Linked DNA regions of Homo sapiens: regions 2, 3, 4 and 5 are each linked to region 1. The links are contacts of gene promoters, found by promoter capture Hi-C in human tissues and cell types (Jung and others, 2019). All regions are on one chromosome and are shown on one strand. The core of a region is centred on a gene start or on the middle of the fragment in contact, and the rest is flanking DNA. Distances in the headings are between cores, read along the strand shown.

Region 1 (3,620 bases), core at 488-2,987:
CTTCCCCGCTCTGCTTCCCAAACTCCTCGCTGAACAAGATTGATTGGTGTAACTGCTAACGACTCAGCCTCGGTTCTCGCATTGATTTGCAAATGGCCCGGAAAAGCTTAAGGATCTTGAATCTGGAAATGAGTTCAAGAAGGAAAGAAGAAAAAAGAGTAGGGGTGGCCCCACGCCTAGTATCTCCTTCTGCCTTGGGCCAGGGCAGGGCTGAAAACAGCCCGGCGAGCTGCGGAGGGGCTGCTGCGTGGGGAAGCGGAGGTTACCGCTCTGCACCGCGGAGGAGCAAGCCTGTTAACGCGGTGTGGAGGCTGTTAAGAAATACAACCCTGCGACTCGTTAAACCCCTTAACTCTGCCCTGCCTTGACTCGGATGCGCCGATTATTCGGCCTGATAGGCTCAAATGGGTTAAACTGCCTCTTACATAACTGGACCGCCTGGGCTCTACACAATTAAAACACTTGATTGCAGTCTTTTCCCGACTCTACATCCCAGCATGACCCGCCCCGTCCCTCCCAGCGCGCCTGCGTGCCGCGCGTGCACAGGCCCCCGCGCGCACGACACGCTCTCTATCACACACACACTCCATGTTGACCATAAACAATCCCCTACTCACACACACAACTTAGTGTCAACACCCACAGATAAAAGAGGGGCGTCCTGCAATCCATACGGGCCGACCGCCACAAACACGCAAGCTGCTCTGCCGCAAGGCCTTGCACCTCCTCGTGTCCCCGCAAAAAAGCAGCGCCCCGCCACCGTCCCTACCTATTCCCGAGAAAACGCAGAGAGAACTAGTTGGCTGCTCGCTAACTGCAGCGTAGCCACCCAGGCAAGATTAGAAGAAAATAAACAAAAAAACAACTCACAGTCGCCGGCGTCATGATGGCGCCGACCACAACTTGGAGGACTTCAAACTTACGGTGCCTCGAGAGGTAAAACGCACCGGTGAGGGAAGGCAAAGCGCCCCTCAGCTCTCTTCACCCCAGCCCTGACACGGAGACTTTTCTAGCAAAGAATCCCTCTAGCGCTTACGACAGTAAGGAGAGCCTTCATTCTAAGGTGCCTCTCTTTCCCCCTTAGTTTGCATAATTGTGATACAGTTCCTCCTATTTTTTTTTTCGTTGTCTTGCTTTTCTTTTTTTTTTCTTGCTATCTTTTTTCTTTCTTTTTTTATTATTTTTTTAATCCCCCTCCCTTCTCCATCCCCAGTCCCCTGGCGGGGTTGCTAAGGAAACGGCCGCTTGGCAACGCGCGCGAGCCCGGGAGCCGGCGGCCGGCGCAGCGCTCCGCGCTGCTTCTGCTGCTGCTGTTGCTGTTGCTGCTGCTGCTGCTGGGATTGCAGCCGCCGCCGCCGCCGCTCGCCCTGCCTCCTCCCCCGCCGCCGCGCCTCCTCCCTCACTCGCCGGCGCGCTCGCCTCCTCGCTAGATGGTGTGCGAGCCGCCCGAGAATTAGACACACTCCGGACGCGGCCAAAAGCAACCGAGAGGAGGTGTAGTGTGGTGCCAGGGGGAGGGAGGGGAGGGAGGGAGGGAAAGCGAAGAGGAGGAGGGGAGGCAAAAACACCGAAAAACAAAAAGAGAGAAACAACACCCAACAACTGGGGTGGGGGGAAGAAAGAAAGAAAAGAAACCCACCCACCCACCAAAAAAAAAAAAAAAAAAAAAAAAAAAAAAAAATCCTGTGGCGCGCCGCCTGGTTCCCGGGAAGACTCGCCAGCACCAGGGGGTGGGGGAGTGCGAGCTGAAAGCTGCTGGAGAGTGAGCAGCCCTAGCAGGGATGGACATGATGCTGTTGGTGCAGGGTGCTTGTTGCTCGAACCAGTGGCTGGCGGCGGTGCTCCTCAGCCTGTGCTGCCTGCTACCCTCCTGCCTCCCGGCTGGACAGAGTGTGGACTTCCCCTGGGCGGCCGTGGACAACATGATGGTCAGAAAAGGGGACACGGCGGTGCTTAGGTAGGAAGAACGGCGTGCTTTTCGTACTTGTTTCGGTCTATCTTTCTGTCTCTCTTTGAACCCTCTTTGCCTTCTTTATAACACAAGCAATAATGCTGGTGGTGCTCATCATGGAAAGACCACATCCCAAGAATTCCAGGTGCAGATTCTTCCCGGAGCCCCGGCCCGTTTATGCTGGGGCAGGTAGCAAGCTGGACTCGTGATGCTAAAGCACTTTGCCGGAACGCCAAGTAGCCTGGGGATGAGTGAACTGTCAGGTTTAGAAGGAGGGGCAGGTGCCACTTTGAAACTCAATGCACAAGGTCTCTGTTTTACTGTCATGGGGTACTCCTGGAGAGTCTGACAAGTTTATCAGGTTTGTTTCTATTTTACTCCAGCATAAGCGACTCTTTCAAACTGCTGTTCTCTGCTCCCATTTATTTTCCCTCTCACTTGGACACTTAGGCTCGATTTCTTGCTCTTTATCTTTCTTTCCTTTTACCGCTTTCTGTTTTCTTTCTTTTCTCCTTCCTCATTCTCTTATACCATTTTCCCCACCTCCTTGTAACTCTTTTTCCCTCCAATATCTCTTTTCATACCTTTTCTATTTTCTGTTTTTTCCCTCCTTTTTAAAATTTCTTCTCATATTTTCTCATTTTTATCTCCACGACTCTAATTTCTGTTCCTCACATTTAATCCCCTTTCCTCCTCTCTTTTACCCTTTTTTCTTTTTGTCTATTTTTTTTATTCCTCCTTAATGTCCCTATCCTGTGCCCTGTCTTCCCTCTTTTGACTCCCATTTCTCATCCCTCTCCCCATACCGTTTCCCACCCCTGTGGCACACACAGGCATGGTCACTGTTCCCCTCCAGTACCATTTACTCACCCTCATAAATCTTATTTCCATAAACATACTAACTCACATACTCTCACATCCTCACATGCACTGGCACTTCCATGCTGTAAGAACCACTTCCACATTCAGATTGTCTCTCACTGTTTTTAAAAGGCATACTCTCCTTCTCTGTTCCACATTGTCACTCACACATGTGTACACACTGCCTGTCTCACTCGCTGCTCTCACTCTGTCTCTGCTTCTCTCTTTTTCTCTTTCTGTGTCTTTCTATCCCCTTTTTATTCCTACCTTCCTCCCTCCATCAGTCTTCACTTTTACTTATTTTTCTCATTTTCCCTTCTTTCCTCTGAGCTTGAGCTCTGAGGTGGTTTGTCATTAATAAACATCCATACCCTGATTTTACCCCTAAGCAACACTGCAGAGTGGGAGTCTGGGAATATTTTATTTCCTATGAAAATATAAATGGATGATCAGCAAAGCTTAGATCTAAACAAAGCTAAACGCCCTATTCCTTCATTTCTTTCCCATCACCCTCCCTTCTCCCCCTGCCACCCCACCTCACATTTCCCTGAAAGATCTTCTTTTTCTCCACTGGGTGGTAGTTGGCTTGTAAGTCTGGCTTGCACAACATCAGTGTACATGACATGTCTAAGGTGAAAGAGAGTGGGAAATGTTTCTGTTTGAAACATGCAACATATTTAAATTTAATGATGTGGGTGTGGTATATGACTTACACCTTTTGGAACATGCCTATGAGTTCAAATTTGGAATACTATCGTATTTTTTAATATACACTAATACATATGTTTTTAATAATTTCTGTTTTGAA
Region 2 (3,276 bases), core at 424-2,923, 290 kb before region 1:
TATATTATATACTGTCAGGTATTCATAAGTGCTTTGAACAAGAAAAGTAGCAAAGTGAGAGGATTTGAAAGTGACTGGATTGGGAGTGTGTGGGATTATTTTACATAGAGTTATTGGTCAGGAAAGGCCTTTCTAAGAAAGCTTATTTGAATAGAAAACAGAGTGAAATAAAATAATGAGCCATGAAAATTTTTAGGGCAAAAATGTTTCAGACCAAATGACAGCTGGTTCAGAGGATTTGAGTTGGACATGTGCTTAATATGTTGAAGAAACAATAAGGAGATACTTAAGGCAAAGTATGTCAGAGACTAATACTTAGGATTTTATTCTTTAAATGTAATGGAAATCTTCTAGAGGGTTTTGGGCAGAGAAATGATATAACCTCATTTATTCCTGAAAAGGTTCATTTTCTATTGCAGCAGGGAAAAGAACACAGAAAGACAGTTGAGAAAGCTGTTGCCAAACTGCAGGGCAAGATGATAGTGGCTTAGCTATTCCTGGGGCTTGTTTTGTTTCTAGATAAAGGAAGCTCTTAAAATGCGAGACTCGTGACATTTATTTTCCTAGTGCCTAGAAGAGGACATGGTATAAAATAGGCACTCAACAGAATACCTTATGAGTCAATAAAACAATAGAGACTTGACTAGAGTTTTCACCTACAAAGGAAAGCTGAAGACTACAATTTTCTTGAAGTACATTTTGTTATCAATTGTAAAACATGTCAGTACCTCAATACAATAAATGGACATTAAGGTACTGAGTATAGGTGGCTAATCTCCTTAAAAAAATTCACACAATGCAGCACATGAACATTTTAACATGTGAAGGTCTTTTCTCTGATGCACTTTAATATGTCACTTAATATTAAGAGTGATAACCAAAGATGAAAGTATTACTGATGCAGGACAAAAACATGCCATATTTTAAGTCAGTCCCTTTTCATAAGGGTCTTATTGTACCACAGCAAATTTCAAAGAGACCAAGACAGAAGATGATTCTAATGCCATCTCTAGCTGGTTGCCTTTTGACAAAATCTTGAGTGTTCTTATAGGAAGGAAACAATATTTGGTTTGTGCTAGCTAACTCAGAGGGTTATGATGAGAAACCAATATGGTGAAGTATCTGAAGGCAATTTGATAACTTTAATGTACCACAAAGTTAGAAACTATTACTATGCCAACTAATTATCTAAATTTAGTTAATGTGGTACATGTGACAGTGACTTGATTTTCCTGGTACTTTCCATTACTGCTTTATTGCCCTACATATAAGAATATCAAATTTGTTTTCAATCCTACTCACTTTATTTTTATAATTAGTGGCTCCCACCGACCACACATCATCTGGAGAGCTCATTAAAACTCAGATTACTGGACCTCACTCTTAGAGTTTGTGAATCAGTACTTCTGGTTAAGGTCTCATAATTTTCATTTTTAACAAATTCCCAGGTAATGCTGATGCTACTCTTCTGGGAGCTACATTTTGATAACTACTGCTTCTGGGGATAGTGACCATTTAACAGAGTTAATAAAAATGTTTATTTTTTGGTTTGAACTGAAGTATCTCTCAATAAATCTGTACACAGAAATTTTTTGGACTGTATATGATAGCTTCTCACTGACCAAGAAAATAAATGCTTCAAATGAAAACAAGTATTAAGGTAATAACACACAAATTTGAACATTTTGTGGACCAGCATACTCCAATGTGGAAACTTCCTTGCATGAGATAATAGACATGAATCTAAATTCCAAGTGGCAGGGGCAAACCCATCTCTTACTAGAGTTGAAAGTTGAAATTACATATCTATTGTTCATTATATTAAAATCACTGAGGTGTAAAATTATAGGTGCAATATCAAGCACCATGTATTATTGCTTTATTCAGAAAAGTCAAAATCTTTTAAGTATAACTATATTTTTGATAATAACTTTTTCTCTGTCTTAGTTATGTTCAAGGAATAAACTCATCAATAATTTGGAGAGCGGTTGAAGAATTTGTTGGGAATATAAGAAATATTCCACCAAAATGCTTTTGGGGAAGTTTTTCAGCAGTCATAAAGACAAAAGAACCTATAGTGTGACATATGGACAATCTTTTATAGTCCATCCTCTCTGGTTAAAAAAAATCAATGTCATTTAGTGGAATACAATTAAGGTTCAAGAACCAGATTCCATTTCCAAACCCTTTATTTAAATGGTGTATTCCTTACTCTCCTTCTTTCATGGTGTATTATATTGCTATAAGTTAGTGTCAATGACTGCCTTATCCTTTGTACAGAAGCATGGTACAATCCTTCTCTGGCTTCAAATGGGTTTTTACATATTTTCGGAGAGCAAAAAAAACTATACTCCAAACCTCTCCCTGAGTCAGAGCCATCCATGGAGAAAGAGGAAAGTTACCCATCTAAGAATGAAAGAGGAGGGGTGTGAGGTAGAAAAAAAAATTTCATTTTTTCTGTTACACAAACACATTTCTAAAGCTATTGTCTCTACTAAATATGAGTGCTACACATTCCAAAGAAAGTTTGGACCTCCCCAGTACCCAGACATTTATTTGTGTTTCCTGAGTTTATTCAATTTTTCATTATGTCACAATTAACTTGACAATTTACTAAGTCCAAGGCCTTAAAAATGAATCAGGAAAATACAAAGTAGGAGGGCAAGATATGGAAAACTACATTTTGTTCCAAAGAAATGGAAATTCTGTTCCCAAAGAGAGGGAAGAATAGAGCTAAATGATGGTATGAAGAGATCTACTTCTTCTATGTTTGTTTATCTGTGGGGGTGTGGTTGTTTAGCTGTTACCTTGAATCTGGGCCGGAAGATATATTAATACCCAAGATAATTCTGATAGAATGCTGTCACTCATTTTAACACATGCATCTATTTTCCTTTCTGGAGTATTCATGTGTCTGGACACCTAAAACCATTGGCATTTCACAATCCCCAAGATGAGTCTTTAGCAAACTTGCTAGAAGGAATGTTGAGGAAAATAATATCAGATGTTATAAAGAAACTTAATGGTATTCTCTCCTTCTAGATATTCTGCATAACAATGAAAAACAATTTGCATATGCTAGAGTGTCTTTCTTTAGTGGTAATTCACTTCAGTGGAGTTGTCATATTAACTTGGTCCTCCTCTGAGAGTCCTTCTCCTCAACTGACAACATTAGTGTTTCCATTCTGAGTATGTCAATTTCATCGGTTCAGTTTCAGTTTGTGGTCACAGGTATGCATAACACCCAGGTGCCAAAAGTTGGGGAAGATTCTAGTG
Region 3 (3,286 bases), core at 450-2,949, 440 kb after region 1:
CCAAAGCCAACTTGAGTCAAATGGTCTATACTGTGAGATGGGGGGATTTGATTGGAGTGGTATACAGAGTAGTAATGTGAAAAGAAAGAGAAGAATTCATTTTGGAGAGTAAGTACTGTGGGAGAAGAAAACATTGCAATGCTTAAATGTTTAAATATGTGCTATGGTCTGAAAATTTGTGTCCCTAGCAAATTCATGAGTTGAAACCTAATACCAAATGTAACAGTATCAAGAGATGGGTCTTTTAGGAGGTGATTAGGTCATGAGGGTAGAGCCCTCATGGTTTAGATTAGTGCATTTATCAAAGAGGCACAAGGAAGCTTGTTTGCCTCTTCCGCACTGTGAGGATGCAGCAAGAAGGCACTGCCTATAAGGAACAGGCCCTCACCGGGCACAGAGCCTGCTGCCACTTTGATCTTGCATTTCTCAGTCTCCAGAATTGTGATATATTTCTAAGTTACCCATTCTAAGGCTTTTTGTTACAGCAGCCTGAATGGACTAAGACAATATATAGGGTGGTAAAGAAAAGAGAGAACAGCTAGAAAGTAATATGTGTGGAATTTCTGGGTTCTTCAAGGGTATGGGATGAAGTGAAACCAGAGGATGAGAGAGTCAGCTTTACTATTTATTCACATTTTTTCCCCCAGGAAACAATTCCTAGAAAATGTGTCAGCAATCTTTTTACTTCCATAACCTGCATGTGTGTGTGTTTGTGTGTGTGTTTGTGTGTGTGTGTGTGTGTGGGTGGGTGGGTGGGTATTTGTAGTGCTGAAGAACAAAGGAGATAAATCATACAAGTAGTTAAGACCTCTTGTTGAGTTAGATAGATGTGGCTAATCGGACTCCTAGGTACTTGGTATTAGAAAAGGAATCAGATTTAAACACTTCTCTATGAGCAGAATTTTTATTAGGTTGGGGGGGAAACTTGCTTTCCATTCAGCTCAACTTCAGAGGACAGCCCTAGAGTAAGGAAGAGAATAACAACCTTTCTGGCTTCCAGGTTGGCAGGAGAGAGAATAACAGAGGCCCTGGGGTCAGACCACATGATTTAAATCTGGCTCTTGGCTGGGGGTGGTGGCCCATGCCTGTAATCCTAGGGCTTTGGAAGCCTGTGGTGGGAGAATAGCTTAAGCCTAGGAGTTTGAGACCAGCATGGACAACATAGTGAGACCCTCATCTCTTAAAAAAAAAAAAAAAAAAAAAGCCAGGTGCCGTGGCATGCCCTTGTAGTCCTAGCTACATGAAAGACTGAGGTGGGAGGATCCCGTGAGCCCAGGAGTTTGAGGCTGCAGTGAGCTGTGATCGTGCCATTGCACTTCAGCATGAGTGACACAGCAAGAGCCCATCTCTAAATAAATAGATAGATATGTAGGTAGGTAGGTAGGTAGGTAGATAGATAGATAGATAGATCTGGCTCTATTGTCCTTTTTGCTGTGTGAATTGGATCAACTTACTCTCTTTCTACCTCAGTTTTCTCATTTGTTTAAAAGTGGAGATAAGAAGAGTACCTCTTTGTAGGGTTGTGGTGAAAATTGGCTGAATGTTAAGTGTTTAGAATAGGACATGATAGTCAGTGCTCAATAAATATTATTTCTAAGTACTTAGTTTCATTAGTATTACTTAATTTTGGTGATACTTGGTGAAGAAATTGGGGCAGCCTGATTTCCCCTGAGAACAAAAGTCTTCATGGAGTCCATTATGTGGGACTTTGTTTCTTTTTTCTTACCATCTCCTACCCATCTCAAGATCTGATTTTTAAATATAATAATAACTTTAATTACTTATTAAATTGATTATGATTTATGCCTTCTTATTTATGCACAAATTGGTTACTATTTATGCTTTCATATTTATGCACTTATTTATGAAATATATTCTGTGTAGATATATAAAATTCTATAGTTATTTATCAAAAATAAAAACAAAAATTAAGCTACACTCTCTGAGCGCTATGTAGAAATTAACACAGGAAATGTTTCCTTGTGACTGCATACTGTGCAATTAAAATGATGTAAGTCATTATTTATTAAGAACAATTTCTGATTGGTTTGAAAAAGAACCATTGTCTATTATTCCTAACATTAAACCTCTATTTGCCTTGACCTCAGATTAACTCATACTAAGAAAACATTTTAATATATATGTTCAAAACCTGAAATAATTTCTGTCTGCAAATCTGAACTCCTATAGAAGGCACTTTCTTGACTATATCCTGGATAGTCCCCCTGGGCAGGCCTGTCTGTTCAAGGATGTCCACCAGGATGTCTAGGAAGACAAGACAATCTCTGTCCTGGGGTTGGGCCAAGGCCAGTCACCATGTGTTAGTGATCTGACTTCTCTCATTCCTTTAATCTCCAAACTCTTTGCTTCTCTCTTCTACTGAAGTCACCCTGAGCTGTTTGAAAAGGCTGGTGAGAAACTAATTTCTTATCAAGCCTGAGGCGTAGTATCCTGATTTTATGCCATTCCTGCTAGTCTAGATTGAACAATAAAGCAGGAGAACTCAGAGTGGTTTCAATACGTGCAAACGGGTCAAGGACAGCTTCCATGTGAACACTGTTGGCAGGATTGTAGTTTCCTACAAATACTTCCTCTCTTTTCAGCAGCTTCTTCAAAACCTGAAGGATCACCAGTAAGATTTAGGTCATTAAGAATGGCTTTGAAATGCCTTACTGTGGCAAATCAAATGTTATTTTTTCCATTAAAACCATAAGTAAAACTGATTTTGATTCAGTATTATGACCCTCTCTGTTAGGGAACATTAAACACTGTTGTCAGGATCAGGAGGCCCTGATTTGGACACTATGGTGTGATTCAAACACAAGTGTTTACAAAGGAAGGCCCACTTCATAAAATTCTTGCATTCTGCTCTTTTCCCCATTGAGGCATTATGTCTTTGTTAAGGGATGGTTACATCCATAGTTCTCATTAGTTTGATTAATGGTATACCTCTAATAGAGGCTGCTACCTGACATTTGGGGAAAAATACATGGCAGGTAATTTTTAAAAATACAGAACCTGTCCCCTTAACCTAATTTTATTCCCTCTGGTAAGGGTGGCAATTGGATGTGACACTTATCATTGGGATTGGTCTGACATCCTCTCTTTACCTCCCTCTCCAGTTCAATTAAAAGAAGGCTAGCCTGGTTTTCTGGAGAAACTGAAACAAATGTAGGGAGAGAGATATTTCATATCCCTAGCATGCTGTCATGTCCACAAATTTTGAACTTTACATTTCCTGCCAATTAGACATGTTAAGATTTCACTAGAATATTGAATTAATGGA
Region 4 (3,357 bases), core at 591-3,090, 380 kb before region 1:
TATTCTGTATAAAATACCAAGCAATGTCAACTCAAGTTTGGAATCATTTAACTTTTTCTCCTTATTGTCTATTTTCTGTGAATTGAATCATAACATGCCAATTTATTAACATAATAGAGAATGGCCTTAAAATACTTACAAAGGCTTTCTATGAATTCTACCATTTCATTGACTTGTCACAGCAAACAACAAGTTTGCCATTTCAAACCATAGTTCTGAATGTGTATCTGTGGTGTGGCAAGTAAGGAACTAATTAAGTATGAAATTACCTTGTATATCTAAAGCTATGTCTGCTCACCTTTAGGCATTTTGGGAATCCACCTAATGAGATATGAGTTTTGCTCCACAGGACAATCACAAAGCTCATTAATGCTCATTAAAACATAAGTAGTATTCAATGGATTCCGCAAAATCTCACTGTATTTTAATGAACATCTGAATTATGCAATGGAGCAAAACCCTGTCAAGGAGAAATTCTTGTTAGTGCAAAAGGAAAGTGCAGGCCAATACAGATAGTAAATACTGTAAGTTTAACTACATGTAGACACATCTGTGACAAATAGAAAACATATTTCCAGAAGTTCATCTCTTAACAATTAAAAATAAATCTGTCTAGGTTGATTTGACAAGCATCTGAAATACTAGAGAGAAGTATTAATGCAATCGCTAGATTATTTGTCAATAAGAATGTTTTGAGTTGTTATTCACACATTGGATTTAAGAAAGTTGAAAATCTTCTGTTTTATAACTCATTTTGAAAACATTGTAGGTAAATGATGAATAATTATTAACTGAGTAGATAAGTGACTTTAATATTAAAGTCTATATATTCATTTACATACGTATAGTTTTTTCTGCACAAATATTTGAATGTCCACTGTGTGTTAGACACATACTAGCACTGAAAGTAAGAGTGATCAAAATAGAATCTTAATGTCACAAAGCTTATATTCCTAAGAGAGAAAGAGATGATAAATAAACATGTAAATATGGAACTAGTTAATAAGAAATATAGAAAACATAAAAACCTGGTAAGTGTATACATAGTAGAGAGAGAAGAACAAGCACTGTTACAGATAGGGTGGATGGAAAAGGTCTCTAAGAAGTTGTTATTTGAGCAGAAACAGGAATGAAGAGTAAGCCTTGGGCATATGTGAGGGATGAGCTTTAGGGACAGAAGTAACTGCAAGTATAAATGCCTAGAGGCAATAACAGACTTAGAGAAATACTCGTAAGGCCAGTGTGCCTGAAATGCAGCAAGCCATGAAGAAAGTCACAGGCGGTGAAATTAGAGCCATAATCAGGAAGAGCAGCACCAATTTTCAGGCTTCCAAAAGAATCTAGATTTTATCTAAGTGTGATGGGATCATTCGAGAACTTTGAGTAAAAGAGTAACTTGATTTTACTTCTATTCTAAAAGACTCTCTCTGATTTCTACTTGGAGAAAAGGTCATAGTAGTTTGGACAAGGGTGACAGTGAAGCCATTGAAATGAGGATGACAGGAGACTTGGCAGAATTGAATGATGGATTGAATATGGTGTGTGATAGAAAGGAAAGGGCCAGAGGATGACTTGAAGGGTTTTAGTCTAATATATTTATTGGCCAAATAAATGTTTGACATTTTTCAAATAAGAGCTTTTATTTTTTTGTTTCAAATAAATTGATATTAAAATGAAATAGGCCAAGTACAGTGGCTCACACCTATAATCCCAGCACTTTGGGAGGCTGAGGTGGGAGGATCACTTGAGCTCAAGAGTTGAAGGCTAACCTGGGAAACATAGTGGGACCCTGTCTCTACAAAAAAATTTAAAAATTAGCTGGGCTTGCTGGCACCTGCCTGTGGTCCCAGCTGTTCCTGAGGCCAAACTGGGAGGATTGCTTGAGCCCAGGAGTTCGAGGCTGCAGTGAGCCATGATCACAACACTGCACTCCAGCCTAGTGATAGCGTGAGACCTTGTCTCAAAAACAAAAATAGAAAGACAAAACTCACAAAATAAATATAAAACAGAAATAAATAAATATTACCTCAAGAACATAAATTATAAATGAAGCAGTTCTCATGAACCAGTGCCAGGACCAATTCTGCTCTCACTCAGGATGTTCTGACTTAAGGAACCATTCTATTTCCAAGATTTAAGAACCATATCAATCCTCACATCTCCCAAATGTATGAGGAGACTTCAAGAAGTTCTTGGCAAATAGAATTAAAAAATGTAAATAAATAATATAAACTTTCTCAACATAAGCTCCATCAGGCTTAAGACAGCTAAGTGATGATACAAGCCATTCGGTTCATCCTTAAAAACCCAAGGTTCCTGAGAATTTAACCATGTCAATGCAATCTTTTCATATTATTGAATGAAGAAAATTGAGTACTCTTTAAAGATTTTTTAAGATTAGGAAACAAAAAGAAGTCAGTGAGGGCCAAACCAGGACAGTAAGGTGGATGCCTGGTGATTTTCTATCAAAATATTAACAAAATTGTCCTTGTTTGATGAGAGAAATGAGTATGAGCATTGTTGTGGTAAAGAAGGACTCTCTGGTAAAGCTTTTCCAGGCACTTTTCTTTTGGAGTGTTAGTTAACTTTCTCAAAACAGTCTCACAATAAGTAGATGTTATCTTTCTTTTGTCCTCCAGAAACACAAAAAGCAAAATGCTATGAGCATCCCCCAAAAAACTGTTGACATGACCTTTGCTTTTGCTTTGACTGGACCACTTCCACCTCTTGATAGCCATTGCTTTGATTGTGCTTTGTCTTCAGGATTGCCTGGCAAATCCGTGTTTCATCTTCTGTTACAAATTTTTGGAGAAATGGTTCAGGATCTTGATCCCCCATGTTTAAAATTTCCATTGAAAGCCCTGCTCTTGTCTGCAGCTGAACTGGGTGTAATGATTTTGGTACCCATTAAGTGGAAAGTTTGCTTGACTTTATTTTTTCAGCCAGAACAGTGTAAGCTGAACAAACTGAGATGTCTATGGTGTTGGTTATTGTTTGTGCTATTAATCATCATTCCTCTTCAGTGAGGTCATGAAAAAGATGAATTTTTTCCTTGTAAATTGATGTGGATGGCCTGCTGCTGTGGGCTTCATATTCAATATTGTCTAGTCCTTTCTTAAAATGAGTTATCCACTTGTATTGTTTCAGGTTGCTTTAAGGCATTTTCTGCATAAACTTTTCATAAAGCATCAGTGATTTCACCATTCTTCTACCCAAGCTTCACTACAAATTTCATGTTTGTCTTGCTTCAATTTTAGCAGAATTCATGTTGCTCTAATAGGGGCTCCTTTAAAACTGATATCTTATGCTTTTGAGTGCCTCAAACTAGATCTTATTCAGACATGTTATGACAAGTTA
Region 5 (3,496 bases), core at 433-2,932, 320 kb before region 1:
GGTCCCAGCTACTCTACAGGCTGAGGTGGGTGGATCCCATGGGCCAGGAGGTCAAGGCTGCAATACAGCCATGATTCCTCCACTGCACTCCAGCCTGGGCAACAGAGGGAGACCTTGCCTCAAAACAGAAACAAAAACAGAAACAAAACAAAACAAAAAACACAATATATCATCATTAATAATAATCTCTTTATGCAGAATTTTAGGCTCATTAGGGCAGGAGTAGAGTTTGTGTAGACTTGGGTTGGAATTTGGCCAGTCCAGAATGTTTGCGTAAAGTAGATAACAGCAGGTCAGTTGAGGACATATGAAAGAGAAGCACTCTTGTAATGGAAAACAATATTTAAGCCTGATAAGAAAAGAGGGAAGCACGATGAGGCTCATGGACAGGGAAAAACTGGGGGCTCCAAAAGTTGAAGACTGGACAGATAAATGTATTTTAGAACAAAAAAAGGAATACTTTTGTTATAACTTCTAAAAATAATAAAGATCTTTTTATCAACTGTATTGAGATTTAATTTACATCACAACAAATTCATTATTTTAAAGTATACAGTCCAGTGATTTTTTAGGATAGATTTGTGCAACCATCACCATTGTCTAATTTTAGAACATTTTCATCACCTCAAAAGAAACCCTGTGGGTATTAACAGTCATTCTCCACTCATTCTCTCCTCATTCCCTGACAAAGATGAATCTAATTTCTGTCTCTATGGAGCTTTTTATTCTGCATATTTTATACAAATAAATACAATATATGGCCTTCATGGTTCATCTGTTACAGTACATATTAATACTTCACTCCTTTTTATGGATCAATAATATTCCATAGTATGAATATACCACTATTTCTTTTTGCATTTATCACTTTTGCATATACCACTATTTCTTTTTGCATTTTTTAAAAGAGCAAAAGCTTGTGCTTCAAATGATCCCTTCAAGAAACAAAAAGATAACTCACAGGGATAAATTTAACAAATTAACAAGAGAAGTGTAAGATTTGTATACAGTACCTAAAAAACATCACTAAAAGAAATTAAGAAAGACCTAAATGGAAGATTTATTTTTATAGGAGACATTTGCAAATCATATATTTAATAATAGACTTTTAACTACAATATATTATGAACGTATGCAACTCAACAATGAAAAGACAAAATTTTAAATGGGAAAAGTTTTGAATAGACATTTTCCAATAATGCTATAGAAATGGCCAATAATATATGAAAAGATGCTTCACACATTAATTGTTAGGGAAAAACAAATAAAAAGCATATTTAGAAACCATTTCATACTCACTAGGATGGCGATAATAAAAAAAGATGGACAATAACAAATGTTGGCAAGGTTGTGGAGAAATTAGAAACATCATAGATTGCTGGTGGAAAATCCAAAATATTTCATCCACTTTGCAATTTGCAAAGCAGTTTAGCAATTCTTCACAATATTAACATAAAGTTACTATATGACCCTGCAATTTCACTTCTAGTTATTTACACAAGATAATTGAAAACACATATACATAAAAATGTATTAATATATATTTATAACAGCATTATTTATAATAGTCAAAAACGAAACCAATATAAAAGAAAAGCAGAAACAACTCAAAGGTCCTTCAACTGATAAATGCAAAAAGAGATAGTGGTATATTCATACTATGGAATATTACTGATCCACAAAAAGGAGCGAAGTATTAATATGTACTATAATATAGATGAACCATGAAGACATGACCGCGCCCGGCCGAGTCTTAAGATTTTAACCCCTACATTTACATCTGTGTGTATTTTGAGTTAAATTTTGTGTATGATTTGAAATTGGGGGTTTAATTCATTCATTTACATGAGGATATACAGTTGTCCCAGGACTATTTATTGAAAAGGATATTAAATGGGCCGGGCACGGTGGCTCATGCCTATAATCCCAACATTTTGGGTGGCCGAGGCAGATGGATCAGCTGAGGTCAGTAGTTCGAGACCAGCCTGGCCAACATGGTGAAACCCCGTCGCTACTAAAAATATAAAAAAATTAACCAGGTGTGGTGGTGGGCGCCTGTAATCCCAGCTACTTGGGAGGCTGAGGCAGGAGAATTGCTTGAACCCAGGAGATGAAGGTTGCAGTGAGCTGACACAGTACCACTGTACTCCAGCTTGGGCAACAGAGTGAGACTCTTTCAGAAAATAAATAAATAAATAAATAAATAAATAAATAAATTAAAGAAAAGAAAAGGATATTAACTTCCCATTGAATTCTCTTAACATCTGTGCTAAAATCAGTTGGCCATAAGTGTAAAATTGGTTATTCATGGACTCTCAATTCTAACTGCATTATTCTGTGTGTCTACTCTTATGGCAATACGACAGACACTGTCTTGATTACTATAGCTTTATAGTGAGTTTTAAAGTGCAAATCCCCTAAATTGGTTCTTCAAGATAGTTTTGGCAATTATGGGCCCAGCCTCTTGCATTTCCACATGAATTTAAAGATCGTTTTGTCAATTTCTGTAAAAAGGAATCTTAGATTTAGACAGGGATTACACTTAATCTGTGGATCAACTTGGTATCACCATTTTAATAATAATAAGTTTTCTGATCCAAGTATATAAAATGTTCTTCCATATATTTAGGTCTTTCTTAATTTGTAATGATATTTTGTAGCTTCAGTATACTAATTGTTCACTCCTCTTTTTAATTTGTCAAATTTATTCCTGAGAATTTTATTCCTTTTGATATTATTGTAAATGAAATTGTTTTAATTTCACTTCTGAATTATTCATTGCTAGTATATATGAATACAATTTTAAAAAAATATTGACTTTGTGTCCTGCAACCTTGCTAAACTCATTTTTAAATTCCAGTTGGTGTGTGTGTATGTATGTGTATCCATGCCTGTATGCGTGTAGTGTGTGTGTGTGTGTGTGTATGCACGTGTTCCTTAGGATTTTGTATCTACAAGATCATGTCATCTGTGAATACGGATAATTTTAATCTTTCCTTGCCTGTTTGTTTGGATGTCTTTTCTTTCCTTTCGCCAAAATGACATGGATCAAACCTCAGATACACTACTGAAAAGGAGGTAGAAAAAGCAGACATCCTTGTTTTCTTTCTAATATTAAAGGAAAAGGATTTAGTTTTTCACCACAAAGTATGATGTTAGCTGTAGGGTGTGTGTTGATAGCCTCTATCAAGTTGAGAATACATCTCTCCATTCCTGCTTTGTTGAGTGCTTTTAAAATAAAACGATCTTGGATTTTTTCTAATGATTTTTCTGCAGCTATTAAGATTATCATGTGATTTTTGTTCATTATGCTGTTAATATGGTATATTAAATGATGGATTTTCATATGTTAATCCAATTTTGCATTGCTGGGATGAATCCCAATTTATTATGTCATATGATTATTTATAGATGTTGCTGGGATAGTTTTGCTGGGCCGTTTGCTGAGGATTTTGTATCTGTATTTATAAGAAATATTGATCTGTGGTTTTCTGGT

Evidence for each region. Contacts are between HindIII fragments. The study calls those that stand out against the background at their distance.
Region 2: a fragment that was not itself captured here is called in contact with the fragment with the promoter of NEGR1 in region 1 in 2 of the 25 tissues and cell types used here (dorsolateral prefrontal cortex and hippocampus).
Region 3: a fragment that was not itself captured here is called in contact with the fragment with the promoter of NEGR1 in region 1 in 1 of the 25 tissues and cell types used here (dorsolateral prefrontal cortex).
Region 4: a contact is called between a fragment that was not itself captured here and the fragment with the promoter of NEGR1 in region 1, in 3 of the 25 tissues and cell types used here (H1 embryonic stem cells, aorta and spleen).
Region 5: a fragment that was not itself captured here is called in contact with the fragment with the promoter of NEGR1 in region 1 in 2 of the 25 tissues and cell types used here (H1 embryonic stem cells and mesendoderm cells).

Annotation. Positions count from the first base shown.
Region 1 is chr1:72,280,656-72,284,275 of GRCh38, reverse strand. NEGR1 (neuronal growth regulator 1) reads left to right here and starts at 1,737. Exons shown (of 7, transcript NM_173808.3): 1 at 1,737-1,957. The coding sequence starts at 1,782. It overlaps LOC105378797 (a long non-coding RNA gene), which reads right to left and starts at 1,342. Exons shown (of 6, transcript XR_947506.3): 1 at 871-1,342. RefSeq lists silencers at 1,301-1,390, 1,491-1,550. The HindIII fragment of the contact is 4,654 bases long and covers 1-3,620 here.
Region 2 is chr1:72,568,275-72,571,550 of GRCh38, reverse strand. The region is part of intron 3 of LOC105378797 (a long non-coding RNA gene); the gene reads right to left. Among named protein-coding and RNA genes, the nearest start is that of LINC02796, 190 kb to the left of the region's middle. The HindIII fragment of the contact is 5,169 bases long and covers 1-3,276 here.
Region 3 is chr1:71,843,841-71,847,126 of GRCh38, reverse strand. All of the region lies in intron 2 of NEGR1 (neuronal growth regulator 1), which reads left to right. Among named protein-coding and RNA genes, the nearest start is that of NEGR1-IT1, 8.5 kb to the right of the region's middle. The HindIII fragment of the contact is 3,547 bases long and covers 1-3,286 here.
Region 4 is chr1:72,662,757-72,666,113 of GRCh38, reverse strand. The region is part of intron 5 of LOC105378797 (a long non-coding RNA gene); the gene reads right to left. Among named protein-coding and RNA genes, the nearest start is that of LINC02796, 100 kb to the left of the region's middle. The HindIII fragment of the contact is 5,002 bases long and covers 1-3,357 here.
Region 5 is chr1:72,598,027-72,601,522 of GRCh38, reverse strand. All of the region lies in intron 3 of LOC105378797 (a long non-coding RNA gene), which reads right to left. Among named protein-coding and RNA genes, the nearest start is that of LINC02796, 170 kb to the left of the region's middle. The HindIII fragment of the contact is 3,828 bases long and covers 1-3,496 here.